Linked DNA regions of Homo sapiens: regions 2, 3 and 4 are each linked to region 1. The links are contacts of gene promoters, found by promoter capture Hi-C in blood cells and fetal thymus (Javierre and others, 2016). All regions are on one chromosome and are shown on one strand. The core of a region is centred on a gene start or on the middle of the fragment in contact, and the rest is flanking DNA. Distances in the headings are between cores, read along the strand shown.

Evidence for each region. The method cuts DNA at HindIII sites, captures the fragments that hold promoters and counts their contacts. A CHiCAGO score of 5 or more calls a contact.
Region 2: a contact is called between a fragment that was not itself captured here and the fragment with the promoter of FAM89A in region 1, in 6 of 17 cell types (naive CD4 T cells, activated CD4 T cells, total CD8 T cells and 3 more). The highest score is 7.3, in naive CD4 T cells.
Region 3: a fragment that was not itself captured here is called in contact with the fragment with the promoter of FAM89A in region 1 in 1 of 17 cell types (erythroblasts); the score reaches 6.1 in erythroblasts.
Region 4: a fragment that was not itself captured here is called in contact with the fragment with the promoter of FAM89A in region 1 in 6 of 17 cell types (naive CD4 T cells, non-activated CD4 T cells, total CD8 T cells and 3 more); the score reaches 7.8 in naive CD4 T cells.

Annotation. Positions count from the first base shown.
Region 1 is chr1:231,037,961-231,044,288 of GRCh38, forward strand. It overlaps FAM89A (family with sequence similarity 89 member A), which reads right to left and starts at 2,294. Exons shown (of 2, transcript NM_198552.3): 1 at 1,961-2,294. The coding sequence starts at 2,251. RefSeq lists an enhancer at 972-1,653 and silencers at 1,316-1,395, 2,036-2,085, 2,346-2,455. The HindIII fragment of the contact is 3,223 bases long and covers 677-3,899 here.
Region 2 is chr1:231,230,800-231,237,127 of GRCh38, forward strand. The region is part of intron 2 of FSAF1 (40S small subunit processome assembly factor 1); the gene reads right to left. Among named protein-coding and RNA genes, the nearest start is that of FSAF1, 7.2 kb to the right of the region's middle. The HindIII fragment of the contact is 164 bases long and covers 3,072-3,235 here.
Region 3 is chr1:231,192,448-231,198,775 of GRCh38, forward strand. TRIM67 (tripartite motif containing 67) reads left to right here. Exons shown (of 10, transcript NM_001004342.5): 2 at 4,924-5,019. Among named protein-coding and RNA genes, the nearest start is that of TRIM67-AS1, 8.0 kb to the left of the region's middle. The HindIII fragment of the contact is 1,207 bases long and covers 3,094-4,300 here.
Region 4 is chr1:230,908,165-230,914,492 of GRCh38, forward strand. It overlaps TTC13 (tetratricopeptide repeat domain 13), which reads right to left. Exons shown (of 23, transcript NM_024525.5): 19 at 4,459-4,594; 20 at 3,306-3,385; 21 at 778-856; 22 at 548-627. Among named protein-coding and RNA genes, the nearest start is that of C1orf198, 43 kb to the left of the region's middle. The HindIII fragment of the contact is 7,430 bases long and covers 1-6,328 here.

The DNA of each region.
Region 1 (6,328 bases), core at 1,044-3,543:
TCAACACAAACTATTTTGCAGATATCTCAGGAATGAACTCCCAGTTCTTGTTTTGCAAGGCCTCCCCAGAGGGAGTCTCAGCTTGAGTTGTCCACTCAGACCCCATGGCCCCAAGTCAGTAAATCAATTAAAAAGCCGAAAGATTCTCTGGGCAACTTTAAAGGCCTTGTGACATTTCTTGAAAGGAACTTGTCAAAACCTGCAGCCATATCTTATCTTTATCTCAGCTAAATACCAGGCAGACCAAAGATGGCTGTTTATTTTTCTTGTGCTTCAAATAGGCTTACAGAGAGCTCTGGTCCAAGGCGTAATTATACGGATGTGGTTGTGCTTCAGTCACACCAGGAGGGACCTGGAAAAATACTTCTGGGAATGGCACGTTGACTCCCAAGCCACCATAGCAAGACTCCAGAGCATGTTTATAAACCACAGCTTCACAACAGGAGCGGCCCCGAGGTTTTTCTATCTCTTGCTCAAGTATGGAATTTAAATAATCAAAGATGATCTTCCTACTTCACCCCCGTGGTTCTGCTATGTCCAAGTTCAGACTGTAAACACACTACGTGTAGATTTATCTAATTAAAATGCAGTTCACCAGCTGTGTGATGCTTATGTCAATGAATGTTTTTTAATAAATTAAAAACGGTTGGCTTGGAATTTAAGTGGTTCTGTAAGAAGCTTAGAAAATCTTTTCAGTGAGAATTGGAAATCACTTCAATGCCAGCTACAGAGTAGGAAGACAATATCTCTTTGATTAAAAGTGTTAAGGCTGCTTTCTGAATTCAATTAAGTCTTAGTTTTCAGAACAGATAATGCTCCTGAAAAAAAAGTATGCATACCCTGAATTTTTCTAAACAATATCTTAAATGCACTAGATACATATTTAAAAGATTCCTATAACAATTTATTTTTTGGCAAATTTAGTTTTGGGAAAAGGCAGCTTTCCTAATGTTAGATTTCTTAACAATTTACCTATAGGGAAAGGAGACAACCTGGACGAGGTGAATGGAAAGGGAGGCTTTTAAAACGAGGGGATTGGGAGGAGGTGATGGGGGCCAGTAAGATGGTAGAAAAGAGGAAAAGTTTTTGATTTCTTCTTGCCTGGCCTACGCCTGGCCGAGAAAGCTGGGGAAAGACTCGCTGTTGCCTAAATCCCTGCCCTTGTCCTACTTTTAGCGTCACCCTAAATCATGTGTGTTCTGGTCCACAAACAGCTAATGTACTTCCCAAGCACAGAGAAACACTGAGCCCATGGTATGGAGCTTAGACACAAGGCGAAGAACTCACATGGACAGCACCCAGACCGGGAGGACAGCCACCTCCCACCTTTCTCAAGAGGGTTTGGGCAATCAGCTTCGCGGGGCTGAGGGACCCGGCCGCCTCCCTCGCCCGGGGTGCGCGTCTGCTTTCGCAGCCATCTGTGCGCCGGGGCCATCCCGCGGTAATCGGATCACGGACGCGCGGCCTGGGGCGCCGGAAAGGGGGCCGGGCTGTTCCAATCTGCTGTCTACACTGGCGGCGGACAAAAGTTGTCCTCTTCGTGGTAGGAAAACGCAATCGCGTTAATCCGTTGGGCCGCTGTGAAAGCCTTTCCCCCACCGGGAAGGTCTGTTTCACTCGGGGAGAGGTGACAAGGCCGCCCCCGCCCCCAGGCCAGGCACGAACCCCGCACAGCGCTTCCGGGCGCCCAGGTTTCCGAGCCAGCGGGGCCGGACTGAGGGCGCCGGGCATAAGAAAGCCGCCCTCTGCGCGCGGGGCTCTCCCGCGGGGGTTCCAATCGTGGGCACGGAGCACGCGAGAAAAATGGGGGTCGTTGGGAGGACGGCGCCGGCGCCTGGGGCGGAGGAGCCCGAAAGGGCGGGTGGGCGCGGGGACTTCCGGACAGAGCGCGGTCCCCGCGAACTTTCCCGGGACGGCGAGCCCGGCCGGGAAGAGCCCCAGCTCGCGGAGCCCCACTCACCATCTCTTTGCGGAGCAGCGCCAGAGCGGCGTCCAGGTTGGGAGGCTTGGCGGGCAGCGCTGCCGCCCGGGCCCCGCCGCCGCCCGGGCCCCCGCGGCTCAGCTCGTCCTGGATGCGCGACTTCTGCGCGTACAGCCGCTCCAGGTGCCGCCAGCCCCCAGACGCGCCGCCGCCCGACGCCGAGTGCAGCAGCCCGCTCAAGCTCTTTGGCAGCGGGGGCAGCCCGTCCACCCGCAGCCCCCGGACCGCGCCGTTGCCCGCGGCCCCGGGCGCCGCCCGGGCCCCACTCATCGCGCCGCGGCCCGGCCACGCGCCTGCCCCGCTGCAGCGAACCAAGGCTTTCCCCCGGCCCGCCCCCTTCCCGGCGGTGCCCCGCCCACTTCCCCTCCCGCGCCACGCCCCCCCGGCCCCGCCCCCTCTCCTCGAGGCCCCTGCGCGGGCCCCGGGTCCGGGTGGCGTCCGCGTCCAGCAGCCGGGCTCGCCTCCACCCGGGTCTCCTCCTCCCTCGCGCCCCTCCAGCGCCCTAATTCATCTCCAACTCCGCGTGACTACCCTCTAACCCCCCGACTCACCTCCAGCCCCGTCACGAACCCTTCTGTGCCACTCCCTAGCTCCGAACCTACTAAGCCCCCCGCGACCCGCAGCTTCCCGGTTCACCCCCATCTCTGTCCCCACCTCCTCTGAACCACCTCCCAGCTTCCCGGCTCACCCCTAGCTCCGAACCCTCTCACCCGCGCCACCCCGAACCCCAGCTTCCCGGCTCACCCGCATCTCTGTCCCCACCTCCTCTGTGCCAACCCCCAGCTTCCCGGCTCACCCCCAGTTCCGCCCCCACGCCCTCTGTGCCACCCTCAGCTCACTGGCTCACCCTCAGCTCCGAACCCACTCACCCCCCACCCCAGGCTTCCGGATCACCCCCATCTCTGCTCCCACCTCCTCTGTGCCACCCCCAGTTCACTGGCTCGCCCCCAGCCCCGTCTCCACTCCCTCTGTCCCACCCCTCAACGCCCGCTCACCTCCAACCCGGCTCCAGACTTCCCCCTTACCTGCCAGCGCTCCTCAGCTCCTTGCCTCACCGATCCCTGCCCTGCCCAGGGGGCGGCCCAGCTTCAGATCCCACGAAGCAGGCCGTTGCAGGGGGTGGGGGTACCGAGGCTCTGGCTCACAACCGGCAGGACGTCGAGGGCAGGAGGCCTGGCTCTGGTCCCAGGACCCCCGGCCCTCCCCGAGGGCGGAATCCAGCCCGCCTCCTGCTGCCTCCCACTCGCCGCGGGGGGCGGCTGGGGGCCCCAGACCCGGGCAGGTCGCTCCTTGCCGCCGGGCGCGCTGGCCTTCTCAGCACGGCCTTGTCCAGCAGTACCCGCAGCAGTCAGCAAGAACGCCAGACCCACTTTTGAAACTTCAAAACACTAGTAAACATGCCTTTCATTCTGGCCATAAACACAAGAGTAACTCTAAGTGGAAATGTCAGGAAACCAGAGAAAGGGATTAAATCTCGGAAATTATCCATCAGCTCAGGCAAAAATAAACACGACGCACACCTCAGAGGAAAAGAGAAGAGAGAGAGAGACTCTGCCCCTCCCAGGAAAAGTAAAAATGACAGGCAGTTATAACCAGATTAGAGATAGAAAAGATCAAGAAGTAAACGCTACAGCCCAACCGCAGATTAAAAACTAATGCAGTGTATAGATTGGATAACTTTAATGCCCATTCATTATTGGCTTTAATTATAAAGGGATTTAATTTTCTAGCTACATTCAAGGGGATCAAAATTATAAAGTGTTCTGAGCACTTCAGACACCCAACATAAAAGAGCCCTGCACTTTGGGTTGTTTTATACCCTTTACCACCTCCTAGAGCCCACCCCAGAAGCAGTGTCTTTGAAATTGGCACAATATTCTCCCTGGACGGTTGCAAGTGGGTGAGACTGATATGAAGAAGCTTTAGTGCAGGCGGTGTGATTGACAGCACCCAGGCTTCCCACCCCACCCACTGCCCAGAATTTTCCGCCTCTTCACTGTGCCTCACCTTCTACTAATTACCTAGTCACATTTCTGGATGTCAGGTATTTATTCATTCACTTATGTAAACGGTGGGTGTCTTCAGGAGAGTGACCAGTCTGCCTGTGTGGGAGTAAGGGAGAGGAAGGGGTGGGAAGCATTTTGACATTCGGTTCACACCTTAGCATGAATTTTTTTTTTTTTATGAGACAGTCTATCACTCAAGCTAGAGTGCAGTGGCGTGATCTCAGCTCACTGCAACCTCTGCCTCCTGGGTCAAGCAATTCTCCTGTCTCTGCCTCCCAAGTAGCTGGAATTACAGGCATGTGCCACGACGCCCGACTAATTTTTGTATTTTTAGTAGAAATGGGGTTTCACGATGTTGGCCAGGCTGGTCTCGAACTCCTGACCTCAGGTGATCCACCCACCTCGGCCTCCCAAAGTGCTGGGATTACAGGTGTGAGCCATCGCGCCCAGCCTGCATGAATTTCTTTAATTTCACTGGTTACAATGCAGTCTCACCTGTAGTACCTAGCAGAAATCACTCAAGGTAGGTGATAGGAGATTCAGCTATGTGATGGTGAAATAAGAAAAGAAATCACTTTGAAGTATCGGGGCACTGAAAGCATTTTAAAGCACATACTTCAGAGAATTACGGATTACAGAAGGAAAAGGAGGTTAGGGTCAGCTAGACAGCAGCATGAGGTCCGTGGTGTCAGGACTCGAGAAAAGAGGCACAACTTAGACAATGCCAACCTTACCAATTTTTTTTTTCTTTTTTGAGATGGAGTCTCACTCTGTCGCCCAAGCTGGAGTGCAGTGGCGCGATCTTGGCTCACTGCAACCTCCACCTCTCGGGTTCAAGCAATTCTCCGCCTCAGCCTCCCAAGTAGCTGGGATTACAGGCACCCGCCACCATACCCATCACCATCTTGGCCAGGCTGGTCTTGAACTCCTGACCTCACGATCTACCCACCTCAGCCTCCCAAAGTGCTGGGATTACAGGCATGAGCCACCACGCCAGGCCAACCTTAACATTTTAAAGGCAGGCTCTGCGTTCTGGCCTATACTCAGTGAGGTAAGAGTATTGAAATCAGTATCAACAAATAATATCCCAGGGTAAGGAGAAGTTTCTACAGAATTTCTGTGGTGCTGGTGAAGACATTATTTGTACAAGCCTGAAACTATTATATAACAAATATTTTGACATCCTTGGGGAATGTTAGTGTCTGTTTATTCAAATGCCAATATAAAGTACCTTTTAAAGTTCATGCTTATAATGAGAGAGAAGTAGTAAATAACTTCTGACAGTGTGTTTTTTTGCATTAAGCCACTGAAACATTACCTTAGTCCATTTAGGCTGCTATAACAAAATACCTGAGACTGGATAATGTGTAAAGAACAGAAATGTATTGCTCACAGTTTTGGAGGCTGGAAGTCCAAGATCAAGGCACCAGCTGACGTGTGTGCTGAGAGCTCATTCCTCATAGATTTCACCTTCTGGGTGTCCTCACATTGCAGAAGGGGCCAGGGAGCGCCCTCAAGCCTCTTTTACAAGGGCACTGATTCCATTTACAAGGGCTTCACCTTCATGACCTAGACACCTCCCAAAGATCTCACTTCAATACCACCACATGGGGGTTAGGTTTCAACATATGAATTTGGGGCTGGCAGGGGGCACATACATTCAGACCATAGCAAAACATCTGTATTCTGAGTTCAAATCAGAGTGAGTCTTCATCATCACCCATGCAGCTGAATTAGTCTTTTCTGTTTTGTTTTGTTGTTCACAGGCTCTTGGAAATCAGAAAACACAAACTTCTAATCCAGTGCTCTATTCATTAACCCACATCTTTTCTTAGACTTTGTCAATCAAGGTTAGGGACCTGGGCCTTGGAGCACAAGCCTCAGAGTCACCAGTATCCAGGCATTTACTTAGAGATTATTCTCATGTGCCTCCATCCTGACCTTCCATTAACCCAGCCACTAGGTTCCTCCCCACCTCTAATCTCTGCCCACTTGTTGTTTGCTTTTGGGAACTCTAAAGAGTCTTTTTGTGCGTTTTATTTATTTTTGTTTTTTTTTATCATTCTCAAGTTTAATAACTTAGGTTGTTAATAGACTAGAAAGAACCTGAAAAAGACACCAGAAGTCCAACTGAGCTTGCCTTTTCAAGCTGATGACTTTAAATGCCGCTAACTATAGAGAAGTTTATCTTGCCATTTTTCATTTGTTGCAGAACCTAAAACTAGATTACTTTGAAAGCAACTGTGCAATGAATTTGGGCTACATTTTAGCAAATGTGTTTATTTCAAGACATAATTTCTTATATTTCAATCATTTCTAAAACAAATTGTAAATTTTAAAG
Region 2 (6,328 bases), core at 1,904-4,403, 190 kb after region 1:
ACTCTGCACTTAATTCACAGGGGGGTTATTACGATATAACTGGATAAAGTGTGATAAGTGTGTGGCACAGGGTCCAAAAAACAGCAAGGCTTACCCAACGCTCTTATTCCTAATGGATCTACTGACCATACCATCAGCAGCATCATGGGCATCCACTGTCACATTGGACGCTGACTGGCTCTCCGTGGGCTTGGGGTGCTGATGGTAACAGAGGACGTGACAGCAGAGGACCACTGTCAGGGTCCAGGCGTATGGCCTAGCTCTGTGCTATTAATCACAACAGACGCACTTTCCATTTACTTCATCTTCCTTCCTGGCTTCAGATTTTCTTCAAACCTGTCTCCCACTTGGCTGACAGCATCAAGTGCCTTAACTGAGACCACAGGCATAGCACGGAGGACTCTGTGTGCGCCACTTCCATTTTATCCACACCAGAAAGAGTCTTATTCCTATTCTATGACTGGAAAAAATTCCACATTTACTTTGAAGTTACGATATCTTTTCCACTGCCATGCACATCTAATCTATTTACTATGACCATATCTAACCCCTATAAAAACAAACAAAACCCTGTATACCGTTCCCAGATCTCCAAGATCCCCTAAGATATTTACCGCCTTTTCTAAACATTTAAGTAATTCCTCTCTTCCCTCCTACCCGCTCCACTGAAGTAATGGCTAAATCAAGTCTCTAAGTTGAACATTTCTTTTTCTTTTTTTGAGACGGGGTCTCACTCTGTCGCCAGGCTGGAGTGCAGTGGCGCGAGGCACGTCAGATTTCTAGCAATACTGGAGATGTTATAGATGTTTTTGGCCGATCTGTTACTAGAGATTAGCATGAGAATGGAGCAATTTAAAGAGGATTTCAGCACAGTAATAAAATTCTTGGCCAACTGTATGATAGCTACTATGAGGCTGAAACCCCTGGGCCCTGGAAAGAGACCGGCCTACAAAAGAAAGGAGCAATGTCGGGCCTCTCCTAGTTCCTGCTGTCCCCATCAGCAGCCACGGAGAACACCTAATCCCCTGCACCTTGGCTGTGGGGACACCAGGGCTGAGGGGCCGACTAGACCAAGGGGAGGAGAGAGTCCCTTGGTGGTAGCTCTGGCACAGACACAGATACCTCGGTGTCCTCATCCCTCTTTAAACAGTTCACCAGAAACATCTTAGTTTTGTAGCTATTGATGGCTTTTTGAGAAAGGGTCTGAGGTCTAGATCTGTGCATGTATCAAACACAAACTTTTGGGAAAAAAAAATTCTTGCCTCATTATTTCATAGCTGCTGAGTCCCTATTAGCATGACCCACCACTGTCTAATTTTTATTTTTATTCATAGCTTGAGAATCACTTCAGTACATTATTCATAATACATGACCTGACTTAGAAACCATCAGTGGTCTCCTCGGTTTTCTTTCCCCCCATATTCTCTGCAGTAGGAGGCATTACTGCCCATAGGCAATACTGGGTCCTCCACTACTTCCAGGCACACAGGCGACTCACGCTTCCCCGTCTACTTGATGCTAGGAATGCCTAGGTGGCTTTCCCTGGCCAAAGAAACACGAGCAGAGGGGGTGTGTGCCTACTTCCACGTGGACCCCTTAAGAGCCCTTCATTAACTCCCCTTTCCTTCATTAAAGCAACTAACCACCCTCCAGATGGTGGCACCCCGTCATCCCGGGTCCCTAGGTGAGGATGGTGTGGCACAGGAGACCTGCCTCTGCAAATCCCGATGGCCATGTAACATGAGAAAAATTAATTTTTGTCTTTTAAACCACTGGGATGTAGGGACTATTTGTTATCAAATCACAGCCTAACCTATCGCAACTAATCTAGCCTTACTATCCCACACAAGGGAGAGGGATATGTATGGAGATTCTGAGAACTTATATGCTGGGCAGGGAAGAAGGAAGAAAAGCTAGAAAAAGAAAGAACAGTTTGGAAGAAAAGTGAGAGATGAAGGCAGGCAGTCCACCAGATTCAGCAAACCCGTCTATGGGGTGATTTAGGTATTTTCTCTTACGCGGCTTAGATTTTCTTTCTTTTTTAATCTATTAGTTGAAGTGCCCAACCAACCTGTCTCCAATTAGAGAGAGAGTAGCCCGGTAAACAAATGCTCTTTTAAAAATGCAGACGGCTGTATGAATATTAAGAAGTTTGTTCACACCTTGATGAGCCTAAATTACTTCAGCTAGATTACTTTCTTCCTAACACCCATCTGACACTGATCTACTCAGGAACAGGAAGTCTGGCGTAAAAGTAAGAAGAGGCACTGGAGCATGGAGGATTTCCGGGTGGAGTACCATGCAGTGGGCTACATCCACATTGCGGGGCAGTATGAGAGCTGCAAGAATTTGGGGAACGATCAAAGCTATTTGACTATAACTTGCAAGAAATGTCTCTGTCTGGCGATGGCTCAGAGTCAGTGTACTTGTGTCACTCAAAGGACAAAGAGCAGAGCCTAACCTCACCTATGCTCTCTCTAGTATAAAAGTTATGTACACAGTGTTGAAGCCAGAAAGCCTGGGGTCTGAACCCAACCTTTGGCACTTACTTCAGCTCCATAATCCTTTATCTGGCATCCTTAGGGTCAGGTTCCAGCTTTAAAATTCAGAAGTCTTTACATTTTAAAAAGGCAAAACTGAATATACTGAATATTACAGACCACTTCCAGTAGGGTCCAAGGCAGTAATCCATAATTAAACACATTAATATTTCTGTGGCAATATCTATGAATATTCACACCAAATGAGATGAACAAAAAATTTTTTTTTTTGAGACGGAGTCTTGCTCTGTTGCCCAGGCTGGAGTGTAGTGGCACAATCTCGACTCACTGCAAACTCCGCCTACCGGGTTCAAGCGATTCTCCTGCCTCAGCCTCCTGAGTAGCTGGAACTACAGGCGCATGCCACCACACCCGGCTAATTTTTGTATTTTTAGTAAAGACAGGATTTCACCATATTGGCCAGGCTGGTCTTGAACTCCTGACCTTGTGATCCGCCTGCCTCAGCCTCCCACAGTGCCGGGATTAAAGGCATGAGTCACCGTGCCCAGCCGAACAAAAATGATTTTTAAAAGCTTCATCAGGTTTTTCTGCCAAATAAATCTGCACCAATCTTAAAAGAAAAGGGATCAATCAAATTGTGGTTTCCAGAGCTCTGGGTGTTTGGAATTGCAGATATGGGGCTGTGAGGTTAATGTTTAACTACAGGCAAGTAACTTAACCTCTTGTAAGTCTCAAGCTTCTCTGTGAAATGAAGACAGGTGCCAGGAATTGTGAGGATTGAGACCATAAATGAGTTAATGAACATAAACAAACACTCTCAGTACACCCCCAATAAATATTAGCAATTCGCTATATGCTCAGGGGCGGCCTTCATGTACCTCAGTCTCAGGATGCAAAGGTCCCTTCTGATCTACAGAACACTATTCTATTATGTGTTTCTTATCTCTTTCTTATCTGAGGCCACAAAAGAGGCTAAGGTTCCTGAAACAGGGGCAGTGAATGATTCACGTTAAGATGGCCCAATGCTAGCTGTGGAGAAATGGCAGTGACACAGCTCTAAGGGCTGAGCAACACACAGGTGTGTTAAGCTACATCTGACGCTTTCATTGCTTAAAAGCATAAGAATTTTCTTCCTTACAGGCAGCCTTGCACTTATGAAAGAGTAGGTTTGCCCATTCATTTTTTTGAGATCACTAGTCCAGGCCACGCTATTTTGAACCTGGACCACTGCAACAAACCCCTACATCAGTCTCCTCATGCCTCTTGCTATTGCTCCCTTATAATCGATTCACCACATAGGAGCTACAGTGATCGTTTTAAAATTTAAATCAGATTACCTCATGCCCTTGCATGAAATTCTTTGGTGGCTTCTCATGTACTTAAGACTAAAGTCCCAAGGCTCACTACTGCCTATGAGACCTGGCAAGGGCTGGTCTCAGCCTGTCTCTCTTGTATTAGCACCAACCATTCTCCCTTCTGTCCTAGTCTTGCTAGACTTCTTCCAGCTCCTTGAACACACCAGGCCTCTTCATACCCCACAATGTTAGCAAGGCTGTTTTCTCCCTCCTTGGCTCACTCTTCCCTGCCCCATTCACCAGCACCATTTAATACAGCATTAGCCTGAATGTTACCTCCTGAGAGACCTCCCTGACCACTACATCTAGACCAGGTTCTGCATGGTACTCCAGGACCCTATTTGTTTATAATTCTTTCTAATTATATTGCTCAACTCCAAAGTAGATTGTACAGTATACTCCATAAAGGCAAAGCACTATTATCTTCTTCACTGCTCCATCTGCAAGGTCTGCAGACAGCAGGCACCCAGTGATTGGTGGAATAAATGGAGGAATGAATATGTGATCCCATACTATTTCCAGCCAAATTACTTGTATAGTCACTACATTAAAAATGGGACATGGGCCGGACGCAGTGGCTCACGTCTGTAATCCTAGCACTTTGGGAGGCCAAGGAGGGCAGATCACGAGGTCAAGATCGAGACCATCCTGGCCAACATGGTGAAACCCCATCTCTACTAAAAATACAAAAGTTAGCTGGGCATGGTTGTGTGCACCTGTAGTCCCAGCTACTCAGGAGGCTGAGGGAGGAGAATCGCTTGAACCCGGGAGGCGGAGGTTGTAGTGAGCTGAGATCAGGCCACTGCACTCCAGCCTGGTGACAGGGCAAGACTCCATCTCAAAAAAAAAAAAAGGGACATGATGGCTGGGCACAGTGGCTCTCACACCTGTAATCCCAGTGCTTTGGGAGGCTGCGGCAAAAGGACTTCTTGAGATCAGTGGTTCAAGACCAAGCCTGGGCAACAAAACAAGACCCCAACTCTACAAAAAATTTTAAAATGAGCCAGGCATAGTGGTGTGCCCTATAGTCTTAGCTACTTGGGAGGCTGAGGCAGGAGGATGGCTTGGGCCCAGGAATTGGAGGCTGCAGTGAGCTATGATCACACCACTGCATTCCAGCAGGAGTGACAGAGTGACACCCTGTCTCTAAACATAAAAAAATATATATAAATGGTGGCCAAGTTCCGAGATGACCCCATGAAAACCTGCTTCAATGCACGATGCAGCTTAATCATAGAATTTATAGCACAAGTTCTGGAAAAATAGGGTAATTTCCTGGGTCTAGGCAGGGCCAGCTGGATTGTTGTCCAACTCACCATCCCCTTCTTCCTTTCTCAAGCATTCTCTAAAAATGACCAGCTGATGCTATGATTGGTCATGGAGATTACCATTACCCATCATATATTTTTGCCACCCATGTCTGTTTAACTGTCCTACAATGGCTTAGAAGTTTTTAGAGAACAAGGGCACAACTATACTTTCCCATGTTACACAAACTCAGCACAGCTGGTGTATTCCAATTAGCACCAGTTGGCTGACTACCCTTTAACTTGGCATACCCAGGATATGCCATAAGAACTAGCATTATATTCATGTGTATTTATTTCCACACCGCAATGTCAACATTCTGAGGTCATTTTACAGGTGTATGTGTTTTTAATGTGTCCACATTCTGTTTCCTTAACCAGACACACTCACATTTTCAAAGGACACATTTAAAAAAAAAACAAGAGGAAAGGGCAGAGAGCAGCAATGACAAATGAAAATTTTCATTAAGGTCAGGAAGTTCAAAACGTAGAGTGAGCTGAGGCTCCTGAGAAGAGCCAACTAGAATGCATCAGGGCTCGCTTGGAACGGGAAGCAAAAGACAATTTGACAGACTGCCACAGATGTTCTATTATTAAGCAACAGGGAAATGCAGACTCATTCAATCCCAACTCTTCTGTCTTTTCTATTAAAAAGAAAACTTTCCATTCCAGAAAAAAGAACATGAGGGAATATAAGAGGAAACTGAAGTCTGAGACATTTGAAGAAACAAGAAAGGGTGCCTAAATGCTTTATGTTAGTTGAAGTCTTCAAATGCTGAATTATATTGCAAAGCAGTGCTCACCAACATTTTTCATATCATGACACATACAGAAAATACCAGTATTTGTAGGGTACACTGGGGTACTGGGAGATGGCCAGCTTCGGGGCTCTGGTTGCCCCAAACACCAAGGGAATCCATTTCTTGACCCTCCCGTAACAGTTCCCAGAGCCTTATATTTGGAACATAAGAGTTAAGAAGCTTATCTAGAATCCTAAAATAAAGGTAGACATGGTTACAGATTCACTAATAATCTTTTTTTTTTTTTTTGGAGAAAGGGTCTCGCTCTGTCACCCCCGCTGGAGTGCAGTGACACAATCACAGCCCACTGCAGTCTCGACTTCCTGAAGTCAAGCAATCCTCTGGCCTTGGCATCCCAAAGTGCT
Region 3 (6,328 bases), core at 2,447-4,946, 160 kb after region 1:
GGGATTACAGGTATGAGCCACTGCTCCAGAACTCCATCTCTTAAAAAAAAAATCGTTTGTTCTTTCACTCCAAAAACCTTTGCTCTTTTTCCACTAGAATTATCAGGTCTGATTTCCACAATGCTATTCCCTGAGTGAGGAGAACTGACTTGTGGTCATTCACACACAAAGGACTGGGTTGAAGAAAAGGACCAGTGTGTGCTTATGAGGACATCCCTCGACAGCGGCTAGCCCTCACACTGCCCATTTTGGCTCTTCCATGGCTGCAGACCAGGGCACAGGGCCCTCACGTGGCTGAGCACATGGCAGGCCCCAATGTGGCGTGCATTGAGGTGACCTCACCAAGGGGGCATCAAAAAGCAGTGGAGGGAAAAATTAGATGGCAAGTCTGATGGACCTGGAAGCAGTGTCCGCTGAACCGTGAGACTGTCCCCCTTTCAGCCAGGCATTAGCCTGCGGTCACGGGTCTCCTTCAAAACCACTCTGTTTTTGGGCTTCTTGCCAAGCTCCTTGGTCTTCTTGCCAAGCAGGAAGAAGGTCAGCAGGCTCTGGGGAGGGCTGGGCTCCTGGAAGGCTGGCGCTGGCTGGGACAGAGCCGTCCTGGCCCCTGGTACTGGGCAGATGGTGCGTGACCCTAACTACCCTGCCTCTCAGGCAGAAGCAAGCTTGCTGAGTTCCTCCAGGAAGGTGCTAGCCGCAGTGATGAATCTGCAGGGATCTATCCCACTCTTTGCATGCACCTCAAGCAATTATTTTGCTTTTTATTCAGCCGGGGAGCATTCTTTGAGCTCCTACTTTGTGCAGCACAGTGGGATAGAAATGTAGAGACAAAAGACAAAGTCTCTCCACTGAGGACTGTATGATGAGTGGGAGGTGCTATGAACTGAATGTTTGTGTCCCTTCCAAATTCATACGTTGACGCCTAAATCTTCAATGTGCTGATATTAGGTGGTGGAGCCTTTGGGAGGTAATTAGGTTTAGATGTGCTCACAGCCCCCTCTGATAGAATTAATTCCCTTAAAAAAAAAGAAAGAGACACCTGAACTCTCTCTCAAGCTCTCTCTCTCTCTCTCTCTCTCTCTCTCTCTCTCTCTCTCTCTCTCCTCTTGGTGCACACACCAAGGAAAATCCATGCATCTTAGTCCATTTGCATTGCTATAAAGGAATATCTGAGTCTGGGTCATTTATAAAGAAAGGTGGTTTATGGGGCTCATGATTCTGCAGGCTGTACAAGAAGCATGGCCCCAGCATCTGCTTCTGGTGAGGGCCTCAGGAAGTTTCCACTCATGGTGGAAGGCAAAAGGGAGCAGGCATCACATGGCAAGAGAGGAATTGAGAGAGAGAGGAGGGAGCTGCCAGGCTCTGTTTAACAACCAGTTCTCGTGGGGACTAATACAGTGAGAACCCGCTAAGCAGGAGGGGAGGACGGTACCAAGACACTCATGCGGATCCACCCCTGTGACCAAATACCTCCCACTAGGCTCCACCTCCAAAACTGGGGATCAAATTTCAACATGAGATTTAATGTGGCCAAAAATACTATATCCAAACCATGACACCACGTGAGGACCTAACCCAGAAGAGGGCCCTCACCCTGAACCAACCGCACTGGCACGCGGATCTCACACTTCTAGCCTCCAGAACTCTGAGAAATCCGTGTTTGTGGCTGAAGCCCCAGGTCTGTGTGTTCTGTTGCTGCAGCCCGAGCTGACCAAGAGAGGAGGGGCCAGCCACAGCCCCAGGGGGCCCATGCTTTGGGTGGGAGTCTTGGAAAGGGGTTGCTATTCTTTCCCTGTCCCTGATAAACTTCAACTTGAAAACTCCTGTCATTAAAGATATCTTCCAGGGCCTGTGAATGATGCTGACCCCTCAGCCTCCTTTTGAGGGTGAGTATCCTGGGATGGGTGGAGTTGTCCTGGGCTCTGCACCCCACTAAGGATGTGGCAAAATTAAGGCTGTCAGGGCAGAAATAATTTGATAAAGGTTCATTGGAAGCCAAGTGTGAGGCTCGACTGGGGAAGACACACCAACAAAGCTGGGCATGTTCCAGAGCCTGTCACAGGTTGGAAGGCTTATCTAGAAAGTGAAGGAGAAGGGAGAGCTCCTCCTATCAGAGTTGTCCTTTTCCATTGATGGCTACAGCACAGAGGTTACATTCATTGGCTACAGATGACAACATACAGGCTAACATTCCATGTGCAAGGCGATCAGTAAAACTTTGTGATTCAGAAACAAATGTGTCATTTTTATTTTGAGACACAGTCTCACTCTGTCACCTAGGCTGGAGCACAGTGTCATAATCATAACTCACTGTAACCTCAACCTCCTGGACTCAAGCCATCCTCCTGCCCCAGCCTCCCGAGTAGCTGGGACTACAAGCACACACCACCATGCCCAGCTAATTTTTAAAATTTTTTTATAGAGAGAGGGTGAGGATGAGGGAGGAAAGCGGGGCCGGGGAGTGCGGCAGGGAGGTCTCTCTATGTTGCCCAGGCTGGTCTTGAACTCTTGGCCTCAAGCAATTCTCCTGCCTCTGCCTCTGAGTAGCTGGAATTACAGGAATGAGCTACCCCACCTGGCTTCACTGTCCTTTTTGATGTCAGTAGGTTATGTATTAATCAGTATGTCAACAGTTTGAGGAACTCACAGTAAGATTTGAGGGCCTCGGGATAAGAGCCTTTTCTCAGAGACAGGATGTAAGCCATGAATCACGAGGCCTTTCCCAGGAGGTTAATCCAGAAGCCTGCCAAATGTGACCTGTAGGTTATCAGATGGGTGTCAAACCTGTGCTCTCCAGGACTAGCCACTGGCTAATCACACATGGCAGTTGCAACTTACCCTAAATAATATGAAAAGTCCAGCTCCTCAGTCACATTAGCTACTTCAAGTGCTCAGTACCCACAGGCAGCTAGCGGCTACCGTCAGGGACAGAGCAGACCTGAGACGCTTCTGCCATCACTGTATATTCTATGGGATGTTTCACTGCCTAGGTGCTGGCAACAGATGGTGGTACACTGTGGGCCAGCTATGGAGTGGAGAGCCTAAACCCACTGAGGTGGGGCTGGGAGTGGTGAGGCTCATGGTGTAGGAAAAAGCTTCTCCAAGGAGCTGCACCTCCGCTGATCCTTAGCCTAAGGCTCCTGCTCTCTCTGAGCAGACAGCCTAGACCTTGACCTCTCCTTGCGTGCTGGTGCTCCTGGGGACCGGGCCCCCTTCCTTGTATTTCCACCTACTCCCTGTGTCTTTTTGTGGGCTTCCTTTGCCATCTTCTCCATAGGTTTTCAGTGGAGGCTGCACTTGCACAGTCCAGGGGATCTCAAACTGCATCAGAACCCCCTGGAGGGCTTGGTAAACCGCAGACTCCAGGGCTTCACCCACGACCTCTGATCAGCAGATCTGGGGTGCAGCCAGAGACGGTGCACTTCAACAAATCGCCCAGTGATGCTGATGTTGCTGGTCTAGAACCACACTTTGACAACCGTTGGTGTGGTCTAAAGAATCCCATTCACTGATTCATGCATTCAACAAATATTTATTGAATGCCACCATGTGCCGGGTACTCTTCCAGTGCCGGGATAAGCTGTGAGCCACCCAGCAAAGCCCTTGTCCTTCATTCTAGGACATGGAGATGGACAGCAAACAAGTTTTCTAGGTTGGGTGGTGACGACTGTTAGGAGGAAGAATAAGCCAGGGGAAGGCGAGGGGGATATTGCACAAGGTCGTGAGGAAAGTCCTCACTGACACAGTGACGTCTGAGCAGAGACCTGGGAGGGGACTTGGGGGAGAAGGAGACCCTGGCCCTTCTGACTCTGCTTTGTTCTATCCTCAGCTTTTTAATGTGGAAAATGAGAGTCATGTAAAAATCAGGGTCACAGTCTGGATGGGCGTGATGGCTCACACCTGTAATCCCAGCAATTTGGGAGGCCAAGGTGGAAGGATCACTTGAGACCAGGAGTTTGAGATCAGCCTGAGCAACACAGCCTCCGAGACACCATCTCTACTAAAAAATGCAAAAATTAGCTGGAGGCTGATTTGGGAGGATCACTTGAGCCTGAGAGGTTGAGGCTGCAGTGAGTCATGATTGAGCCACTGCACTCTAGCCTGGGCAACACAGTGAGACCCTGTCTCAAAAAAAAAAAAAATCAAGGTCACAGTCTACTCAATAGCTAGGTTTTAAAGACAAATTCAATTGTGTGTGTATGTGGTTCGTTACAAAAAAGCCTGGTGCCAAAAGCCATAGATTTGAGCTCAGCTTGCAATTTCACCCTTGGGCCACAGCAACTGATCCTCATGCTTCAGAAGCTTCTGCTGGTCACACCCCTCTCTGCAGGGTGAGGAGTCCCCAGGGCTAAGGGTACCAGGCTAGGAGCCTGTATGCCCCTTTAGAGGATGCCCTAGGATTACCAGTCCATACACCTAGTCCAGTTCCAGGACCCACAGCCCCCTTCCTGTCCATCCCTCAGGGCATACCAGGCCCCAGGGTTTGCACCCCAGGCCAGGAGATGACTGTGTAGGGATGGGGTGGACGGAACCTGACCTGGGGTCTGGAATGTCCATACAGGCATGTACTGATTATGGATAGAGGGGGCCAGGCCAAGCCAAGGACTCTATTTATCTTCTTGTCTTGGGCTCTACAAACATCAGGGGCAGACCTGTTTGCTTCAACCCGTTAGCTGAGTGCTCCTTACCTCTATCCAGCTTTGGGGATGAGAAAGGAGAGTGCAGGCCAATCTACCACTGTTGGAAAAATAAACAAATGTTGTAGAGATCATGGGTCAGTGGTGGTCCCTTCATCAATGAGAACAGCAGATGCGTGGGATCAGTCCTATCCCCTCTTATAAACATAAGCTTTTATGATGAAGTGCAAATTTTCTGTGCCTTTCACAACTAATTTTTCTTTTCAACATGTGATATCTTTTTCAGGCACAACTATCTCAGGCCTTAAATGGAGTTTCAGATAAGGCAAAGGAAGCAAAGGAGTTTCTGGTTCAGCTAAAGAACATATTGCAGCAGATCCAGGTGAGCACAGCTCTGGCGTCGGGAGAAATACTCAGTGTTGAAAGTTTGCACGTTGTGCATCGTATTAAGAAGAAAGAGGCGGGGCACGGTGGCTCACACCTGTAATCCCAACACTTTGGGAGGCCGAGGCGGGCAGATCACCTGAGATTGGGAGTTTGAGACCAGCCTTACCAACATGGAGAAACCCGTCTCTACTAAAAATACAAAAATTAGCCGGGCGTGGTGGCGCATGCCTGTAATCCCAGCTACTCTGGAGTCTGAGGCAGGAGAATCACTTGAACCTGGGAGGCGGAGGTTGCAGTGAGCCGAGATTGTGCCATTGCACTCTGGCTTGGGCAACAAGAGAGAAAGTCTGTCTCAAAGAAAAGAAGAAGAAGAAGAAGAAGGAGAAGGAGAAGGAGAAGGAGAAGAAGGAGAAGAAGAAAGGAAAAGTCTTGTAGCAAGCATTTTCTCAGTGATGGACATTAGAAGGTTTATGTGTCCTACCCTATAGCCTTGGGTGCTGAAAGTGTCACATATTCAACTCATTGGCACACAAGTGACACCTGATACAGGAAAGGACTTTTACATGGAGCCAATTAGAGAGAGCTGGAAAGATGTGATCTAGCACTCTACGTGCCATGTCGTCGTCCTTTGTGGCATCTGTATATGGTGCTTTTGTGGCCGAATATGCCCATGTCATCAATGCATCAAAATATAAATGCATCATTTTCTAAACAAATGTGTTTACTGAACTCTTATGCTGTGTCATGTACTGAGCCCAGCACAAGATACAAAGATCAATGAGGCACCATGTGTGCCTCAGGGTCTGTCTATAGGGGAGAACGTGCACACACAGGTGCTCCTGTGTGAATGTGCACACATAGAGGAACTGCTCATAAGATGAGAAAGCATTAACATATCTGGAGGAATAAGAGGGACTGAATTCTTTTTTTTTTGAGACAGAGTCTCACTCTGTCGCCCAGGCTATAGTGCAATGGCACGATCTCAGCTCACCGCAACCTCCGCCTCCCAGGTTCAAGCAATTCTCCTGCCTCAGCCCCCTGAGTAGCTGGGATTACAGGCATGTGCCCCTACACCCAGCTAATTTTGTATTTTTAGTGGGGACGGGGTTTCTCCATGTTGGTCAGGCTGGTCTCCAACTCCCAACCTCAGGTGATCCACCCGCCTTGGCCTCCCAAAGTGCTGGGATTATAGGCATGAGCTGCCGCGCCGGGCCTGTTCTATTACTTTAAACACACATACACACACACACACAATGTATGAGATTATGCTGTGAATAACGTGTATCCTGACTTTTTTTCTTTCT
Region 4 (6,328 bases), core at 1,948-4,447, 130 kb before region 1:
TCACCAACTACTTTTTAAATTTTTTATTCATGGTTCTTTAAGAGTCAGGGTCTCACTCTGTCACCCAAGCTGGAGTGCAGTGGTGCAACCATAGCTCACTGCAGCCTCAAACTCCTAGGCTCAAGAGATCCTCTCGCTTCAGCCTCCCAAGTACTTGGGACTACAGGCACACACCACCATGCCCAGCTAATTTTAAATTTTTTTGTAGAGGGGAGCAGTTTCACTATGTTGCCCAGGCTGGTCTCGAACTCCTGGCCTCAAATGATCCTTCCACCTCAGCCTCCCAAAGTGCTGGGATTACAGGTATGAGCTACTGTGCCTGGCCTTCATAGTCCATTTTTATCCATACATTCACCCTTAAAAGGTTATCTTATACAACAGCAAAACATTTTAACCTTGAAAAAGTGAATTAAATTCATTGTATTACATATTAACTTATAAAAATGAGTATAACAGTTCCAGTTTTCATAGCGCTCCAAAGTAACAGGAAACTCCTTTTCCTCCTCCAGTTATGATACCCTTGTGTGGACCCCCCTCAAGTAGTTACCTTTTCAAGTTCATCCAGCTTTTGGCGACTTTGCTAAAGGCCTCTGAACCAGGGGCTGTCATAGCTTCAAAGTCGACTAACTGAAAAAGAAAGACATTTAGGAATGTTACTAAACATGGAGGACACAGGCTCGGCTGGAGATCTATGTAACTCGTGTACCTTAAAATAAAAATCCATAAATTGGGACTTAATACATAACCAAGCATTTCTCCCTTCCCGCTCCAACATACCTTCCCTTTGGGAATTTTTCCTGCTACTTCTTTTCCACTTGCCATCAGTGCTCCCACGATGACCGAGTAAGCAATTACACTATTTAAATAAAGAACAAAGGTCAATCCATCCTGGACGGTCTACAGTTACCATGTTAAATTTCACCATGGACTTCCCATCATGAAAGATAAAATTTATTCAAAAATTCTTTCAAATAAAACACCGAATGTTTCATTTAACATGAAAATATGCCTATTTGTTTAAGAATAGTTACTAATTTACTATTAGAATATATTTACTGGCCAGGTGAGGTGGCTCACACCTGTAATCCCAGCACTTTGGGAGGCCAAGGTGGGCGGATCGCTTGAGGTCAGGAGTTTGACAGCAACATGGCGAAACCCTGTCTCTACTAAAAACACAAAAATTAGGCCAGGCATGGTGGCTCACACCTGTAATCCCAGCACTTTGGGAGGCCGAGGTGGGTGGATCACTTGAGGTCAGGAGTTCGAGACCAGCCTGACCAACATGGCAAAACCCCATCTGTAACAAAAATACAAAAAATTATCCAGGAGTGGTGGCATGTGCCTGTAGTCCCAGCTACTTGGGAGACTGAGGCAGAAAAATTGCTTGAACCCGGGAGGCAGAGGTTGCAGTGAGCCGAGATCGCTCCACCGCACTCCAGCAATGCATGTATACAATAAAGTTCATAAATACAAATACATATGTTAGTCTTACTTTTTAAGCATTAGAAATGCTGGCCTTCAAAGAAGAAATGCAGAATACATTCTCACAATGTACTAACGGACAGATGGTTTGGAGATTTGGGCATGTGTGTGAACTGCCAGGGCTCCAAGGTGGCTGTTAGAGGCCAGGGGATTGTGGGGTACCTTTGCCTGCTGGCTCGGAGGCTCGTGGGGCAAGGTCTGCTGCCCTGTCACTCCAGAACGAGTGTAGAGCTGCGAGTGTGCAGGTCTGGGGTAGGAGGCATTTGTAAGACGTTGTGCTTCTGCTCTTGGTGAGGGAAGAGAGGGAGCTGACTGGTTTTGGGTGGAAGGGGCTGGCAAAAGGCCATGGGACCCACTATTGTAACCACAGTGTTGTGCTTTTCCCAAAACAAATCGGCTCAAAATAAAGACAGCTCTCACCCATGAGATAATGCATCCTAGCAGGTGGAAAGGATGGCACGAGCACCTGAGAAAGCTAACAAGTGCCATGGGTGGACACCAAGAAAAGTGAGTCAAGGTGATTCATGGGGTTCTCCAGCAGGGAAGACTTCAGAGGCTAAAGACATGTGCTCTGCAACCTCCAGGGTCCCAGGGCTGAAGATGAAAGGGGCAGAGAAGGCAGGGAGATGTGGCAGAGAGCCCACGTGGAAAGCCAAGGGGAAGCAAAAGAGCCACGGAAGAGAGCGGTGCTGCAGCCAAGGCAAACCAGGGCAGGGCAGGGCTAGCACTGCGCACTGTGTATGCTGCCAAGCTCGGCTTAAACCCATGGTTTTCAGAAGGTGCTGGAGAGCCGCAGGGCACAGAGAGGAGCAGGAGCAAAGCTAGCTGTGGCGGGTACAGGGAAGAGAGAAACAGAAGTGTGGGAGGCAGAATCAACAGACTATTTAGGATTGAAGAGATGTAGGGATGAGGCAGAGTTGAGGACAATCAGAGCTGCACGTCCTTCAATGTCACACGTGAGCCAGCAGAGCTGCTGTGAGGACAAAGGACGGATGCTGGCTGTTGAGTACAGTGGGGCCCACAAGCGGTGATGTGCACAGGCCTCACATCCCTTATTCAGTGGACACAACTAGCAATATTATGCTGATAAGACAACATTTATGTTTCTATTTTGTTTCAATGAGTCTTAAATTCTATAACCAAATTTACTACCACACTTAGGGGAGTTTTACTTTCTAAGCCATTAATCAAAGATAAAGACATTCAAGTGTATTATTTTTAGCCAAAACATCTTAAGTTCAACTATGTGCCAGTAATGGCAAAAGGCCATTTACATAATTTACTGCACACAGTGCTGGGAAAAGGAGAATGAAATGAAAACTCTACAGTCATAGCTCTTGTTTTAATGATACCTAAAAAACTCCTGATATACAAGTAGCAAGAATTTATCCAAAATAATAAAAATAGTACAGAGTGACTGTTGGCCCAAAAGTATAAAACATGAGGATTATGGGTCACCTGACAGCCCAAAATGGAAAAGGAAGAGGAGGAGGAAGAGGTTCAGTAAGAGGCTGGCAGATACAAAAAATTAAAACACACTGAGCACGGCACATGATACACAGTAAACTTTCCATGAACTTGTGTTGAATGGATGAATCCCTATCCTATTAAACGTAAGCACACTATATTAGAACTGTCTTCTATAATTCTTTTGCTGATGTGATAGACTAAGGAAATATTTTTTTGTGCAGATTTTGGAAAAAAATAGGGAGCTCCTTACCATTTCTTTGTGTACTCTGTACCTATATCCATAACAGGAAGGATAAGCAAAAAAGAACACATTTCTCAATTTAAAATAATTTTAATGACAGGATATTACTTACCTGGATCCTCGAGAGAGTGGCATTAAATTATAAAAGTAATAAACTAAGGATAAGATTAAGTTGCAGACAGCATCAGCCTCCTAGAAAAAAAAGATACAGACTCATAAATACTATAAAGATTACAAACTAATTTTTCATTAGGTGACAGAACACACAAGAATAATCTACATCAAGAAGAGGATTGTTTTCTTCCTCCCCCATAAGAATCTACTTTTCAAATTCTTGAATATTCTATACCCTTTTGTATCATTTTTTTCCAATTTAGTTCAATTTAGAGCAATGTTTTCCCAGCTGTTTCTTAAACTGCAACTCTTGGATAAACATAAAAATCTCAGTCTCCTTTAACGTTATTTGAAATGTCAAAATATATATTGTGACTAAAATTTTAAAAGGCATTTATTAACACCAAATATGTTCTCTCAAACAACATGTACCTTACCCCAAAAGATCTGGGTAAGCCCCTTCCCCTACTCCGCATTGAGATTTGGATGATGCTCAATTATGTGTATAAACTTAGATGTTTAATTATATGGATGCAGTGATTAAATGTTGGAGAAATAAGGTGACTTTTCAAGGGTAAGGGGCACCCGTCCACTGCAGAACACAGAGAAGGGGCGTGGTGGGGAGAGAATGTCCACCATACCCTGCTGCCTGTAACGACTCCACCTCGAGTCCAAGCAGACAACCAAAGAAGAAGGCCACAGACCAGGAAAGGGCCGCCAAGTGCAAAGTATACACAACTTCATTATACTTTCCTTGCCATTAACTCATCAGAATGCATCATCCAGTTTACATTCAAAAGCTCCTTGTAAATATACGGTTATAAGCAACAACCGCAACGAAGGGAAGAAAATGGAAGAAAAAGGTGAAGCCCAGGTCATTTTCATTATGGACCAGCTTTTTTATATCTTGTCAAAGCCCAAACTTATGATAATGTCATAGTGCAGTACTAAATTATTAATTTATTATCCTCCCCATTACTGTAGTTACTAAATACAAGAATTTTTGCCTATAAGAAATAAGAAATATTTTTAGGTCAATTCAACCCAATTTCAAGCATAAGATGTACAATCTCAGTGAAAGGGCAGAGGTTCAAAAAATTTACAAAAGAATCATAGGAAGAGCAGAAAAATGGAAACAAAGAGAAACCTACCCCAAATTCTGATGAAAGAATCAATACTTTTCCTTTTGCTGTCAAATCTTTATAAAGTGCATCTATTTCAGCATGATATAATTGTGTCCTTTCTTCCGTGGTTTGAGTTTCCACAGAAAATAATATATTGCCAACTCTGAAAATACAAAAATAAGTGTGAAAGGCATGTATTATAAGTTCAAACAGCCAAACACAGAAAGTTTTTTTTAAAAAGCAAATAGCATACTGACGTAGCACTAAACATATACAAGAATGTACCTTACCTTTCTAACTATAGACAAGCAAGGTAGGTTTCATGAGAATGCATTCTTTCTTCATAAAATGTGATAGTTGCCTCACCTTTAAGTGACCAGTAACTCATTTGCTCACAGTTAAGTCTAACTACATGTACTTATTACACAAACTTAAGCTAATATATGGGAAAACAATGACACATAGTAAAGAATGCATTTAAATAACCAGTAAATATTTTCTAAGCCACCCCATTAGGATTAAAGGTCAGAAGCAAGAACTGTGTGTAGGAAGAAAGTTCAGGGACTACACCATGGTTCTGTTTTTTATCAAAACAAAAAAAAAGTGGAGCTGAAGCTCCACTGAGGTTCTGTGGAGGATATAAGTTTGATACAACAGGCATTTTTTGTATAACGCCACTAGCAAAGTGTTGCATTTAGTCCTCGGAGCCTACAAAGAAAAGCTCAGCTGCTGCCTTGATTGAGGAAGGAAGGAAGAAACGGGGCCACAAATTATTATTATAAGAAATGGGATCTTGCTCTACCACCCAGGCTGGAGAGCATTGGCATGATCATAGCTCACTGCAGCCTCAAACTTTTGGGCTCAAGTGATCTTCCCGCCTCAGCCTCTTGAGTAGCTGGGACTACTGGTATGCACCTGTAGTTATTTTTAAAAATCTGTTGCAGAGGCAGGGTCTCACCATGTTGCCCAGCCTGGTCTCAAACTCCTGGCCTCAATCTTCCCATCTTGGCCTCCCAATATGCTGGTATGAGCCACCACTTCTGGCCAAGGGCCACAAATTATTATGAAACCATGACTCAGGTCATAATGTAGCTCATCAGAGGTTCAAAAAAGGAATCTAATTTGGACAACATAGAGAAAAGCAGGAAAGGTCTCATGGGAGAAGTGGCCTGAACATGGGTCGGGATGGGAGTGAGAGACCCAGACATTGGAAAGCAGGGGTGAACTGGGGAACAAGCATTCCAGTCGGACTAGCAGGCCAGGTTCCAACAGGGAGATGGTCCAGGTCAAGCAGGAAATGTCTGAGGCCACTTTGTGAGAGGCTGTGAATGCCTGGCAGGGAAGCTGGTTTGGGTAGCCACAGGCAATGGCTGGGTATGGAGAGGGGAGAGATTTGTGGAGCTAGGGGAACGTCCAGTGAGGTGGAGCTCTAGCAACATTGGTGAAGTGCTGGTGAAGCAGGAGACAGAAGATGGGATGCCAGGCAGAGTCGACTCGAGGGGTCAGGAGGCCCAGAGCAAGGGAGGCAACAAGTGAGGTGAAGCAGGAAATTGAGGAAAGATGTCACGTTTCAAGGGGAGAAATTTCATGTACAGTTGACCCTTGAACAACATGGGTTCGAACTGCATGGATCCACTTATACGAGGATTTTCTTCCACCTCTGCCACCCCTGAGACAGCAAGACCAACCCCTCCGTATCCTCCTCCTCAGCCTACTCAACGTGAAGATAGTAAGGATAAAGACCTTTATGAGGATCCACTTCCACTTAATACATAGTTAAGTATATTTTCCTTATTATTTTCTTTTTTTTTCTCTTTTTGAGATGGAGTTCACTCTGTCACCAGGCTGGAGTGCAGTGGCATGATCTCGGCTCACTGCAACCTCCCCGTCATGGGTT